Linked DNA regions of Homo sapiens: region 2 is linked to region 1. The links are contacts of gene promoters, found by promoter capture Hi-C in human tissues and cell types (Jung and others, 2019). All regions are on one chromosome and are shown on one strand. The core of a region is centred on a gene start or on the middle of the fragment in contact, and the rest is flanking DNA. Distances in the headings are between cores, read along the strand shown. Region 1 holds the start of COX6C (cytochrome c oxidase subunit 6C). Region 2 overlaps RGS22 (regulator of G protein signaling 22).

The links. Contacts are between HindIII fragments. The study calls those that stand out against the background at their distance.
Region 2: a fragment that was not itself captured here is called in contact with the fragment with the promoter of COX6C in region 1 in 3 of the 25 tissues and cell types used here (adrenal gland, bladder and heart right ventricle).

What each region holds. Positions count from the first base shown.
Region 1 is chr8:99,892,399-99,895,098 of GRCh38, forward strand. It overlaps COX6C (cytochrome c oxidase subunit 6C), which reads right to left and starts at 1,309. Exons shown (of 4, transcript NM_004374.4): 1 at 1,241-1,309. RefSeq lists enhancers at 151-799, 800-1,447 and a silencer at 921-1,090. The HindIII fragment of the contact is 7,152 bases long and covers 1-2,700 here.
Region 2 is chr8:99,980,936-99,983,635 of GRCh38, forward strand. It overlaps RGS22 (regulator of G protein signaling 22), which reads right to left. Exons shown (of 28, transcript NM_015668.5): 22 at 1,002-1,181. Among named protein-coding and RNA genes, the nearest start is that of SNORD77B, 22 kb to the right of the region's middle. The HindIII fragment of the contact is 3,789 bases long and covers 1-2,700 here.

The DNA of each region.
Region 1 (2,700 bases), core at 59-2,558:
ATCACAAATTCAGGAATAAGATTTGGGTTGAGACATGGGTGAGGGGCGGCACTGAAGTCCAATACTCAGGTCTCTGCGTCCTGCATACCTCATGTAGCTCTCACTACTCTGAGCTTTTTTTCCCTTTCTCGGGTAAAATAATAAAAGAAAAACTCAGAAAAGATATCAAAAGGAATTCTCATGCATAGTACATTTTACTACCTAGAGAGGCACAGCACGACAGTGGATGGATTCCTCCCACAAAGCCTAAGCTGTCTCTTGGCTTAGCCTGTTTCATCTTCCCCCCGCCCCCCATATACTGAGCGACCACCCTAAATAAACGCGACAAACTGCGGCACACTAGTAATGGACGAGCAAAGGCAACAAAAATCTTTCCAACAACAAGAAAAATAAGCAGTAGCTCCGCATTGGTAATTAACGATTGCAAACCCATTTATGCAACACTTTCTCTTCTAAAAATTTTCTGTCCACTCGTTAAACCTTCGCGACAACCCTGTCAGATCATGAGGCAGGTGTTTTCCACGGTCACACGGTATACCATTAAAACCTGGACGGGAACGCGGCAAATACCATGAGGGCCCAAATTCCCTAACTGCTCCTTTGCCCAGCCTCACCTAAAGACCTAAGGGGCCTAAAAACTTTTGCGTCCCTGCTGGCCTTCAGCTAACGCGGCCGGGGGTAGGATGGGAAGCCGTGGGGCAAGGGAGGTTGCAGGAAGCCCATCCTTCCCCTCCTGCGGCAGGTACGGTGACCCTCCTCCAGTTTTCCAGCTCTAATTTAAAACGCTGCCACACAGCGAGCGACGCTGCCAGCTGCTTCGCCTACACTAACCCTTGCGCCTCACGACCAGCTGCATTAGAAACCACCACCCCTTTTCTCACGGGAGAAACACCGGGGCCAGATAGGTCAAATGACCTCACCAAGGTCACAATGGCTGTGAAAAAGCGCAGCGGGTACCAGCCCCGGGCCAGCTCACTCCGAAGCCAGCTGGGTTCTCGAGGGTCCCGCAGCCCACCCGGCTTCGGTGGGGCCGTCGCAACCCACCCCGGTCCGTGGTCCGCCCGCCGCCCTCCCTCAGGCCGCAGCGGAAGCGTGAGAGAGTAGATGCGGGAGAGGCCTGAAGCTGCACCACGGCGGAGACACACAGTCACGACTAAATCCGAGGCAGAGAGAAAGCGGGAGGGTGCCGTTGTGACAACCCGCAGTGTCGGGGTAGGGATGCAAAAGGGACCGGACTCACCTCAACACCAACGTCCTTCCTGACTAAAGGAAAAACGAACCGTGCTGTAGCCGCGCGCAGGCGCAGAATAAGAGTGCACAGCGAGAACGCGGCGACGGTAGCCGAAGGAGTTCAAAAGACCTCTAGTGCGCCCACCGCAGGTGACAGCCGAAGTTCATTTCGTGGTCTGCTTCTTTCCTGTGTGACCTTGCAAAACGGGCTTGACCTCCTTATTTATCGACCTCTTTATCTTCTTAGTAAATTGAAGATATTAGTCGTACTCATACACAGAGTCCCAAACCATGTGCACAAACCGACATTTTAATTATAACCAACCTTACGCGAATAACCGTTTGGCTTGGGTAAAAGTGAAAAAGCTGACTTCTAGGAGCTCACAGCCCAGAAGATGAAAAAGACAAACAGATTAATACCGATCCCATGCAGTGGGCACTACCACAGAGACGTGGCCCAGCTACTGCAGAAGCAATTCTCTACCTGGCAAAGCTGAGGACGTTTTGATAGAGGGGCGGTATTTTTGTGGGTTTCTTAAGAAAACAAGGATTTTGAAGGAAGGCAACTGGAAGTTCGTGGAAAGTGGTGTAGAAGGGTGAGGCTCTTGTGCCTTAATGATGCCAGGCTGTTTGTATTGAAATAACCTGAATTTTAAAAGCATTATTTAAGTCAACCCATCAAGCCCTGTGGAAGGTAGCTGGGACACAACAGATGCATGATATTGAGTCGATATATACACTGAGTACCTACTATGTGCCAGATTCTGCTAAACAAGAGGACAGATCTTCGGGGAGTCTCATTCTGATCAGGGAGTCTTTGTCCTCAACCTATTAACCAACACTCTGGAGGGTGAAACCTGGCCACAAAGAAAGGTGCTCAATTGAGGTTCAAAAGTAGGTTTGGACTTTACCAACGTTTTTCAGGCCTCTTATCAAGGGTCTACCCAGCTGAAAATCTTTGCATGGAATTTGTCCAGAGAGTAATTTGTTTCTATTCTCTTTCCATCCCCACCCCCAGAGAAGAAGTGGTGAACTTAAGAGTTCACAGGGATTAGTGTATGTGAAACCATCAGGGAAAGCTTCAGACAATACGTGGAAGAGATGGAAGCAGAGCTGAGTTTCAGTCTAATGGAAAGCCTGGAAAACTGGAGAAATTGGAGAGAAAACATTGGCTGGGAGAACATGGCAAAGACAGGCACACTCAGGGCACAGAGCCTGACCTGAGTGAAATACTGAGTGTTTGTTCTGTGCTTCCCTAGCTATCCAGTGAACCATAGTGAATGACTGAGGGTGACACGTGAATAAAACCTGAGCGATAGATGAAGAGAGACATGTTACATATAGGTTCTGTTCTAGAGCCGAACAGACCTGGATTTGAGTCCCAGCTCATCAACTTGTAGCGGCAAATTTCTTCATCTTTCTAAGTCTGCTTTCTCCTCTAAAAATAGTACCCATTTTGTTGGGTTGTGA
Region 2 (2,700 bases), core at 151-2,650, 89 kb after region 1:
CTATATTTCTGCCTATTTTAATGCATAATTTGGATTGTGAGTCCACTTTTAGTTCCTTAGAGGACTTAGAACACAGCTGGCTCTCAAATGAATCTAAGAATAATCGCCTTTTTCCATGCTCAAGGGCAATAATACCCTAAGTCTCTGTTTCATATCACTTCATTCATGACATGGCCTTCCCTATTACCCCTATTATAATTTATTTTTCTTAATCATTTTTTAGTAACAACATCACTAAAAGGCTTTTTAAAATGCAAATAAATTATGTTCACCAAGTCACTGTTTTCTATTATTTATCTTAAAAAGAAGTAACTTGAGCAGGTTAACAGGCACAATTTTCCTTTCATGAGTTTGTATACTTTATGTTGGTAGAGTTCTTAAATCTCTTCTCACTTATTTTATGAGCTATGTGAATATTCCAATCTTTAAAAATACACAAATCTTGGGACACACATATTTTACACATTTTTGTGGTAGCAGATATTTTAAAAGGAATTACCAATAGTGGAAAAGAAAGGAGGAATTAGCTGGAGGTTAACAAGTTAAAAACAAAAATGGTAACCATGGAAAGCCAAAAGGTAATATTTAATTTTATTTACTGTATATGATCACGAAAAAAACTGCATTTAAGTTACTAGCTTTTTATATTTCAGTCACATATGCAAAGATTATTTAAATTAAATAGAATAAGTCCCAGTATTGGGAGGACTGGAACCTTGTCAAATATGAATAACGTACAAGCTTTAAAAGGATATCTATCTTTTTAATTTTTATTTACTTTTTTTTAGGTTTTTTTTTTTTTTTTTTTAAGAGACGGGGTTTCACTATGTTGCCCAGGCTGGTCTCAAACTCCTGAGCTCAAACAATCTGCCTGCCTCAGCCTCCCAAAGTGCTGGGATTACAGGCGTGAGCCACCACGCCTGGCCCAAAAGGATATCTATCTTTAAAAGGATTGTCAATCTATTTTAAAATATGCTTAGCCACATGCCCTGATCTCTTACCTGTGCCTCTCTAAATACATATGGTCCTAACTCCTTCCGGTGTTCAATAATCTTCTGGGCTTGCTCTACTGGAATGTCAATTTGTAAAGCTGGTGGAATACTGGAATTAATAAAGCAGTTGATAATAGTTGTAATCTTCTTCTGGATGACAGACTCATCACAATGAGAATGGCACAAGTCCTGAACAGAAGGAAAGATAGAATGGTATATAATTAATGCATTACCAGAACACTTAATAGAACTGTATCAATATGTGTTTCAATTAATATATGCATTTCAACTTTAGGTCAAGAAGGCAGTGGGATATTTCAAGGCTGTCTTTAAAAAATTACAGATTTTCTTTCTCTTGGATTTGAGGAACCTAAGACTTTGATACATCTACATTACATAAATACAGATTTCATATAATCCTGATCACTTATTCCTCTAGGCAAAGGAATGACATTAGTATCTACTTTGACTCATTTAACAACCGTATAATGAGGGCCTGTTATATACCAGACACTGAGCTGAGCCTCAAGACACAGGCCCTACCCTTTTAAGGTTCAATCTCCACTGGAGGAGAAGTGTGAGAACATGTTGCTCCTATTTTGGATAGTTAATAAATGTTATGATAGAGGTATACATAGTATCCTAGGAGAACATTGAGAATAGGCACCTAACTCCACCTACAGGTGGATATAAAAGCTTTCCCGTCCAGTCCTGCTTCTACGCCAAGGTGATTTAGGCTCAAAAAGGTACTGGGCATGCTGGTTGTCAACAGGTGTGCCATTCTATATCTTTTATTATCTATGTTGTGTAGTTACCCTATTGTATTATCCTCTTTATAGATAACCTAAAATTAATGATCACACATTAAAATGAGCCACTTAAAAAATTGTCAACATTTATTTTAGACACGGGGGTACATGTGCAAGTTTGTTGTATGGGAATATTACGTGATGCTGAGGTTTGGGGTACAGATCCTGTCACTTAGGTAGAGCGTAGTACCCAACAGGTAGGTTTTCAACCCACCCTCCCCTCACTACCTGTTCTAGTAGTCAGCAGTGTCTATTATTCCCATATTTATGTCCATGTGTGCCCAATGTTGAGCTCCCACTTATAAGTGAGAACGTGTGGATTTTGGTTTTCTTTTCCTGCATTAATTCTCTTAGGATAATGGCCTCCAGCTCCACCCACACTGCTGCAAAGGACATGATTTCATTTTTTTATGGCTATGTAGTCTTCCACGGTGTATATGTACCACATTTTCTTTATCAATCTACTACTGATGGGCACCTGGGTTGATTCCATGTCTTTGCTATTGTGAATAGTGCAGTGATGAACATATGTGTACATTTATCTTTTTGGCAGAATTATTTATTCTCCTTGGGGTATACATCCAGTAATGGGATGGCTGGGTCAAATGGTAGCTCTGTTTTAATTTCTTTGAGAAATCTCCAGACTGCTTTCCACAGTGGCTGGACTAATTTACATTCCCACCAATAGTGTGCAAGTGCCCCCTTTTCTCTGCAGCCTCACCAAGCAGCTGTTATTTTCTGACCGTTTAATAATAGCCATTCTGATTGGTGTGAGATGGTATCTCACTGTGGTTTTGATTTGCATTTCTCTGATGATTAGTGATGCTGAGCATTTCTTCATGTTTCTTGGCCATTTATATACCTTTTGAGAAGTATCCGTTCATGTCCTTTGCCCAAAA